2 separate regions of the Homo sapiens genome follow, and region 2 is linked to region 1. The links are contacts of gene promoters, found by promoter capture Hi-C in human tissues and cell types (Jung and others, 2019). All regions are on one chromosome and are shown on one strand. Each heading gives the region's core, a stretch centred on a gene start or on the middle of the fragment in contact. The rest is flanking DNA. Distances are from core to core; before and after follow the strand shown. Region 1 holds the start of MST1 (macrophage stimulating 1). Region 2 holds the start of GNAI2 (G protein subunit alpha i2).

Region 1 (4,400 bases), core at 936-3,435:
TCTGGCCAGAGATCTCGCAGCCAGGAGCACAGTGAGAACAGAGCCTAAGCCTATCTGTCCAGAGCCCAGGCTCCCTTTCCCTACAACTGCAGCCTCCTTATTCTGGTCTGGCCCAGCAGAGTGAGGAGGGGCCACCCACCCAGCCATACCTGCTGGTGGCTGCTGGGGGTGCATGTTCAGAAGAGGAAAAGATGCGGTTCAGGTAGTCATTCAGCAGCTTCTCCTGCACAATGCCTGAGCCACAAGTCAGAAGGGAGAAAAGGGCCACATGATCAGTGCAGCTCCTGGCCCCTGCTGGCCCCAGAGACTTCTGGTCCTAGGCCAGCCACAGGTGCAGCAAGGCCTGAGGCCTTTGTCCCTTCCTTCTCCTCCCAACAAGAGGAGCCTCCTTCCTTCCCTGCCAGCTCTTACCTGTGACCCTGGATTTCTCAGCATCTGAGGTCAGCCTATAGCTCTTGCGGGAGAAAGACATGCCGGCCCCCTTGGATGCCATCCTTCATCTCTCATGGGCAGCCAGTGGTCCTGGGGGCTGAGCCAGACACAGAGCCTGTCTACTCAGGGCCAGCCAGGGGCCCCCACACCTGACCTCAGTCCTGCCATGGCAGGAAGGCTTGGGAGCAGGTGAGGCCAGGGGCATGCACACTAACACATAGGGCAGGGGAATGCAGGGGCTCCCAGCTTCCTACACAGGGAGGGTAGCCAGGGTCTAGGCCCATGTAACAGGGACCACTTCTTGTTCTCCAGTGTCCCTGTGCCCAGCACAGGGCTGGGCAGAGAGCAGGTACTAGATATATTTTTGCCGAACCATAACAAAATGTCTCAGCTCTGTGGAAATCAGACCAAAATGTCCAAAGTGAGGTGTCCTAGGGGCAGAGCCCCTGTATCCATCTCAGTTGTAAGCCATACTGAGTCCAGCTCACAACCAGAAGCGACAATCCTACACATTCCCCCAAGTGCAGACCACCACTGGTCTGGTCATCTCTAGCCATAAGTCCCACTTACTCCCCACAAGGCTGGAGCCTCTTTCCTCAGCCCTGGGTTCCTCCCTTCTTTTATCCATGGTCCTGATAGTTTCACCATTCCCACTCACACATGTGGCCTCCCACCTCATCCAAGCACCACCCTTGCCCAGCCCTCATGGCAAACTCCATTGGTCCTCCTAGTGCATCTATCCCTCACATCATGTTGCTGCTGCAGCTGCTCCAGAACCTGCACTGAGTCCCTGGTGCTGGCCTCACTGATGTGTAGCGGTGCTGTCCAACACAGCAGCCGTCATCCACATGAGGTTACTTAAATTTAAAGTTTTAAAAATTAACAATTCGATTTCTCAGTTGCCTTAGCCACATTTCAAGAGTTCAATGACCACATGTGGCTAATGGTTACTCTGTTGGACAGCACAAAGGTAGAACGTTCCCACCATCATATAAAGTTCTATTAGACAGCGCAGGTCTAGAGTTTCGCTCTGCAGCACTGCCTTAGCCAGCACTCCCTACTCTGCAGTTCAGTCTCTTATCTCACCCCAAACAGACCCTCTACTCCCGCCACAAACCCTTGTGGGTCTGCACCACGCCTGCTCCTCGGGAAGGTGATTTTCCCGACCTCGGGCCCTCGGTGGGCGTCCATGATCGGTGCCCCTTCACTACCAGAGTAGTTGAAGATCTGATTAAACTCAGTCATTCATTTGATGAGCAGACCTTCCAGACACCCGGAGTGGGCTCCGGGAGTCAGTTGCTGAGGACCCAGGTGAGAGGCGGACCTTGTCCCCGCCCGGGGACTCCCTGTCACGGCTATCCCGTCCAACCCCGCCGGGGTATCCGGACTCAGAACTGAACCTACTCCGTCTGGGAGCCCAAGGACGGCGAGGGCGGCGCATGGCTCCCCCAAGTCGCCCCCGCCTGGCCCCAAGCTCCACAGGACCTGCCAGACCAGCTTCCGCTCGGAGTTTCGCACCCAGATCCCTGCGCTGCAGGTGCCCTCGCACTGGACTAGCCCGGACCGCGAAGGGAATAGCCGGAACCCGCCAGGCTCAGAGCCCTGCCGCCCCTCACTCACCCGGAGCCTCGGCCGCAGCGACCCGGCTCACAACATCCGCCCAACCTCTTGGCTACGGCGTCCGTTCAGGGCCAAATCACGCGCACGCTTGCGCGCTGAGCCTCCAGCCGCGCACGCGCACTGGCCCGCGCCCAGCCTCCGCTAGGGGACCCCCTCCATGGCTTCCCACCGGGTTGTTCCAGGCCTCAGCTTCGCCGAAAGGCCTCACCACCTCCGACCTCCGCCTGCTCTGGGGATGCTCCCAGCCCTGCTGCGGCAGAACGCGACATGCTAACCGGAATCCCTAGGCCGCCTGTCTCCTACCCATACTTAGAGGCCCCGCTCAGACGGTCCTTAAAACGTCTGAAAGGCCGTTCCTGCCAGAGTCCCTGCTACCTGTTACCTCCACCCCTATTTAGTCCTAGTGGACAGCCTCGCTCACCTTCCCTGGGATGACACTTCTGGCGGCTGAGATGAGCGAGCCTCTCTGGGCTCTGCCGCCGGGTGTGGGCTGACCTGCCTACAGCTGGGGCCTGATAAGGCAGCAGCAAAAGGGTGGAGGGGAGGCAGTGTTGAAGCTGGGGCAAGTAATTTTCCCCAATTTACAGGGAAAAACCGAAATTCAGAAAAGTTTAATGTCACCCAGGGGCTGGAGCCCAGACCTCTGGCAGCTCTCACTTTCACAATGCCCTTGGGCTGACTAGGCTGCAGAGGGGTTTCACCCCAACCCCAGGGCACCTCAAGTGTCCCCACCAAACCTTCCTAACACCTGTCCACTAAGCTGTACTAGGCCCTTGCAACTGACCTATGGGACCTGAGGCCTGGCCCCTCATGGCTCCTGTCACCAGGTCTCAGGTCAGGGTCCAGCAGGCCCTGAGCTGACGTGTGGAGCCAGAGCCACCCAATCCCGTAGGGACAGGTTTCACAACTTCCCGGATGGGGCTGTGGTGGGTCACAGTGCAGCCTCCAGCCAGAAGGATGGGGTGGCTCCCACTCCTGCTGCTTCTGACTCAATGCTTAGGGGTCCCTGGTAAGTGCCCCCAACCCTGATCCCCATCTGCCTTCAGGAGGGGGTTGGCCCCATTCTCCTATTCTAGGATGAGAAAAAAGTCGGGGAGCCAGAGGCTCAGTGGGCATGGGGCAGTGACCTTGCCCTCTTGAGCACAGCTGGGAAGCCCTAGGAACACATAGACATTGCCCACTTAGGCCTCTATTAGCACGTCTGCTCTAGCACTGAAGCAGTGTCAGGACCACACAGATGCACGCACACAGCAGGCAGTGACCCCTCCTGAGCCTGATCTACCCCTCTAACCTAGCATATGCCTTTGTGCAGGTGAGAGCCCAGATTTGGAGTCTGAATGCCTAGCCAGGGCCCCTGGCTGGGTAATGTGATGGCTCTGAGCCTTAGCATTCTCATTTGAGAGATGAGGTGGGGCAAGCTTCATCACCCACTGCTCTCACAGAGCGTATGTGTTAGATCTGAGCCCGGTGCCTGGGCCACTAAACAGAGGCACCGGTGATAACTACCAAGTCTGGGCCTGCTTCCCAGGGGAAATTTTTTTCACAAGTATCTGTGCAGGGGGCTAGACTGGCCCTTGAAAGTGCATACAGGGTCCATCCCAGAAGCCTTGTAGCTTTGATCCCCTGAATGAACAAAGTGTGGACATGCCAATACACATTACTGACATGTATGCCCACCTGACCTGCACCCACTCATGCCTACTCTGCAGGGCAGCGCTCGCCATTGAATGACTTCCAAGTGCTCCGGGGCACAGAGCTACAGCACCTGCTACATGCGGTGGTGCCCGGGCCTTGGCAGGAGGATGTGGCAGATGCTGAAGAGTGTGCTGGTCGCTGTGGGCCCTTAATGGACTGCCGGTGAGTGGCCACTGGGCCTAGATAAGACTGGGGGCAGGGAAGCCTGGGCTGTGGCGTTACCCTGTGCCTTCTTCTCTCCAGGGCCTTCCACTACAACGTGAGCAGCCATGGTTGCCAACTGCTGCCATGGACTCAACACTCGCCCCACACGAGGCTGCGGCGTTCTGGGCGCTGTGACCTCTTCCAGAAGAAAGGCAAGTGGGGGTGGAGAGGGGCAGGGTGGGAGACAGGGGACCTCAGCCCAAGTTGATCTTCTGTCTCTTGCTCCCAGACTACGTACGGACCTGCATCATGAACAATGGGGTTGGGTACCGGGGCACCATGGCCACGACCGTGGGTGGCCTGCCCTGCCAGGCTTGGAGCCACAAGTTCCCAAATGATCACAAGTGAGACAAACACCTTCCCTCCGTCCCGGCCTGGGGCCTTCCCCCAGCACACACTATAGTGATGCTCTGGGCCCTCAGGTACACGCCCACTCTCCGGAATGGCCT
Region 2 (4,170 bases), core at 1-2,500, 550 kb before region 1:
CCCTGCTGGACCAGCCAGCTCAAGCTCGACTGTGGCTACTGCAGTGTCAGAGACAGCAGCCCTCTAGCAGTGCACCAACAGCCTGAGTTGGAAGGAAGAATACAAAGCCACTCTGCTCAGCAGGAGTTCCGCACAGGGTGGGATAAGAACTCTCTCAGGTGCCAGCATAGCCTGTGGCGGGGCTGGGAAGAAACAGCCTGAAGAACTTTTCTCAGTGTCCCCTCAATGCTGGTCACCAATCCTGTGGTGGGCCTGTGGGCCCTTGCCACCTGCCCACAGTATGCAAACTGCCGCTCAGTTTACTCCACCATCTACCCAAAATCAGGTTCAGAGGATACTTCCTTCATTCAACAAACAGATGAGAAGCACCCAGTAGATGCCAGGCTCCATGCTGGGCACAGAAATGAAGAGGACTTAGCCCTGCCCTGCAGTCTCCAGGCATCTGAGGGGGGAAGCAACAGCGCTGGGAGCCAGATGTTTCACCAGCCTTGGTCGAGGGAGGATGTCCAGGAAGGATCCTGGGAGGTGATCCCAGAGTAAAGTTTTAAAGAACAATCAAGTAGGGAACAACACACACAAAGTTCCAGGGGCAAGAGAGAACTGCTCTGTTTACATTCTGAAGCCTTTATGGAGCCAATGGTGGACACTGTCTCCTTTTTTTGTGAAGCTGTCCACACAGGCCCATCCCAAATCAGAGACTCTCCCCCCTCACATACACTCTGGCTTCCTTTCCCTTAAGAGCCCAGACCAGGGTCCCAGATTCCACCTGGGCCTAGCTGATCAGTCACGTTGAGCTGGGTAGGAGTGGGGAGCATCCCTAGAATAGGACTGGTATCTGCTCCCCCTACAAAGTTGCCAGGAAATACTCTCTTGCCTGTGTGTACCACATCAGCCTCTGCCCTGGTGACAAGGACTGTGCCTGCCTGCTGGCAGGGCTACCCAAGATGGGAGGGAGGCGGTGTGCGGGCGGGGCAGCAGGCGTGGTTCTGGCTGGGAGGGAAGGCTGGCAGTTGCCCAACCTGAGTCCCGTTGCCTGGACAAAGTCTCCCGCTACATGGGACAGGCGCCCAGAACTCTGAACTTACCACAGCTGGGCTCCCATCACCACCTTGCACCTGGATGGGAAAGGCATGGCTCAAGCCAGGATCCCTCCCCAGGCAGCCATGGCAGACTGGGTCATCAATATCAAGCAGAGCTTGGTCAGAGCCCTTTGCAGCACACTGCAGGGTCTTTACTCCCAACCTACATCCCCAACAAGAACCACCAGGAGGCTCTTGTTCTCCCTCCCCATCCTGACCTGGGGCACTCCTTTGGCCAAAACCCAGGAAGCCCATTTCACAGAGTAAGCAAAGGCCAGAAGGCCAGGACCCCAGGGTGAACTTCCCAGGCTAGAAAGTGCTAAGCCAGACCCTGCACCCCTGGCTGCTGCCAGCCCAGTGTGGGAGGAGTTACCAGGTCTCACTTGCCTTAGCCCAAAAGGTGAGCTGGGCTCCAAGGAGCAGGCCTGGTGGGATGGGGGACCCTTCTGGTGTCGGGACACAAAACTAGCCAGAAGCCCTGCGTTCCCCCAGCTCTATGGTCCAGTCTTGCATTTCCTCGGCCACCACAGTAACTGCAATCGCCTGGGGAGAGGCTGTCTAGAGACTCCTGGCTGGGCACTGGGAGGCAGCGGTACCGGAAGTGCCCTCCCCAGGCCCGTCGGGCAGCAGCAGCAGCAGCGACGGGCATTCCGCCGCGTCGACACCCACTCACTGCCGCTGCCGCACTCACAGCAGAGACAGGAAGAGGCAAGCGCCCAACGCAAAGCAGCCCAGGAGGCTGGGCCGCCGCCCCTTCCCGCCCCTTCTCTTCCTCCCTGAGGCAGCAGCGAAGCGGATGCCATTTTGAAACCTCCAAGGCTGTGCCCCGGAGGCCGGGTCCGCAGGGACAGTCAACAGATGGCCCATAATGGACATACATGCTGTTCCTCGGCCACAGGTCCAGCACGAAAAGCCCTGCTTTTCACAGCCTGGGAGCCCTATGACAGTTCTGAAGTCGAGGGGCCACACCCCCCCATGCACTTCTCAGCCTACAACGGTGCTGCGCTGTTGCAAGGGCCTCCCTCCCCCCAACTCTAAAACCCCCAAATCAAAATTAGACTGCCACTGGGCACCACACCTACTTCCAGTGGGAAGCTGGATGGGGACAGCCAGTAGGCCCACCGTCTTTGCAAAAGGCCAGCTGGGATGCTCAGAGGCACCCTGGCCCACCCCCAGCTGGCCCCTCAACTCCTCATTCAGCTAGTCCACCATCCCCCTTCACAGGGTCCCAAGATCCAACAAGCCCCCCAACTCTCAGAGGCTACATCCCAGGCCTTGCAGCCCAGAAGGGGTGTGGGCAGCCCAGCACCTACTAGCAGATCTCCTGGGCTCACCCGCAGGGGCAGCAATATGTCGGCTGTCTCACCACTTCCACTTCCCCCCACTCCTCTAGCAGCCACCATCTTTTCTGGCCTTGGAGGCGGCCACAACCCTAACTCCTCCACTCTCTCTCCTACTTCCCAGACTGGCCTTCGAAACTGGAAAACATAGAGCCTCCTTGGGAAGCCTGAGGCCTGGCCCCCTCCCCCAGCGTGACCAGTGGAGCCTCAATCCAGCCCCGTGGGGGTTCTGCATAAGGCAGCCTAGGCCCTCTCCAACCCAGGGCTCCCGCCTCCTAGCCCAGCCCACTTGGTGCAGGAAGGGTGGAGGGATCTGGGGAAGGCCAGAGTGTAAGAGGACTTAGGGGAGGATCAGCAGAGGGTTTCGGGAGTGATGCCTGCAGAGAAGGATCTGGAGGGCAGGAAGCAGGGAGCAGGGCTCGCTGAAGGGGTTCCAGCTGGAGATGGGGCTCAAGAGCAGTTTCCCACTCGAGAGGTTCCTTGGGTCAGAGTGCACAGGTGGAGGATACAGATTCCAGACTAGGGATGGGGCACAGAAGGAGAAGGAGGGAGTGGGTGGGGGGCCTGGCAGGGGCCCCGCGGGATGCTCATGCCCAATAGGAATAAAAGGCGCAGGTGAGGAAAACAAGCGGAGCCTGAGGGTTGGGGAACAAGTGGCGGGCATCCTGGGGGTTTGGGCAAAGTGTAGGGAAGGATGGCGGGGCTCTGAAGTTCTGTGAAGCTAGTTAGCAAGGGGGGATGGCCAAGCAGGGCACTGGACCGCGGGTGTTGGGGCACTGTTGACTGGATTTGGAGGTCTGGGGTCTGGGATGAGACAGGGGTCTGGTCTAGAGTCTGGGCAGGATCAAAGGTCTAGTCCAATCTAGAGTTTTCAACCCTGGTCCTGGCCCAGGTGTGGGGTCCCAGACAGCCCGGGTCTGGGAGTTTGAAGCCCTAGTCTGGGAGGTCAAAGTCCTTGTCTGGGGATTCGAGCTGGGAATCAAGGATCCCAGTGCGGGACGCGGCCTCACCCAACAGCAGCAACTTCACCTCCCGCGCCGCCTTCTCTCCGTCCTCCCGCAGGTTCTTGTCGATCATCTTAGAGCGCTCGGCCGCCGCCTTGTCCTCGGCGCTCACGGTGCAGCCCATCCCGCCGTCCGCCGGCCCGGCCGCCGCCCGGCCCCCACACGGCCCACGGCCCGGCTCGGCCCCGCCCGACCCACTCCGCTCCCACCACCAGCCCTCTGCGGGAAGCACTCGGGTCGGCAGTTCCGAGCGACTGCGGGAGGCGCCTTCCCTACCGCCGCGCACCGACGGCGGGGCGGGCCGGGGGTGGGGCCTGGGCGAACCAAGCCTGTGACTGGGCCGGGGCGGGCTTGCAGGCGGGGCCAGAGGAGATTAGAGGCTGTTGATTGGCTCGAGGGCGGAGCGAAGGGGGAAGTTAGGCGCAGCCCAGGCTCGGGCCTGGGCTGCAGGCGGGGCCACGCGGAGAAAAGGCAATAGGGGTGGTTCCAAACCCCGGGACCCGGCACTGGGCGGGCTGCAGGCGGGACCGGGCTGTGATTGGGTGCGGAGCGCCGGGAGCTCTGTTGCTGGACAGCCGGGAGGGCGGATCTGTTAACCCGAGGGTGGGGATCCGGTGCCCTCGAGGGCAGAGCAGGAACCAGCCCTCTGAGCTTCTGCGAGTTGGGCGAGTTAGGTGGAGGAGGCGTGTCTTTGTCATTTGTTAAAGTTAATGAGTCCAGTAAACTTGTTTTGGGATCTACGAACTC

The links. Contacts are between HindIII fragments. The study calls those that stand out against the background at their distance.
Region 2: a fragment that was not itself captured here is called in contact with the fragment with the promoter of MST1 in region 1 in 1 of the 25 tissues and cell types used here (dorsolateral prefrontal cortex).

What each region holds. Positions count from the first base shown.
Region 1 is chr3:49,687,259-49,691,658 of GRCh38, reverse strand. MST1 (macrophage stimulating 1) reads left to right here and starts at 2,185. Exons shown (of 18, transcript NM_020998.4): 1 at 2,185-3,061; 2 at 3,762-3,909; 3 at 3,991-4,103; 4 at 4,181-4,295; 5 at 4,374-4,400. The coding sequence starts at 2,968. It overlaps RNF123 (ring finger protein 123), which reads right to left and starts at 2,102. Exons shown (of 39, transcript NM_022064.5): 1 at 2,053-2,102; 2 at 412-529; 3 at 150-234. The coding sequence starts at 493. RefSeq lists enhancers at 2,272-2,831, 4,348-4,400. The HindIII fragment of the contact is 11,098 bases long and covers 1-4,400 here.
Region 2 is chr3:50,235,713-50,239,882 of GRCh38, reverse strand. GNAI2 (G protein subunit alpha i2) reads right to left here and starts at 3,679. Exons shown (of 9, transcript NM_002070.4): 1 at 3,430-3,679. The coding sequence starts at 3,547. RefSeq lists enhancers at 749-1,358, 1,867-1,946, 3,801-4,170 and a silencer at 3,472-3,931. The HindIII fragment of the contact is 5,493 bases long and covers 1-3,996 here.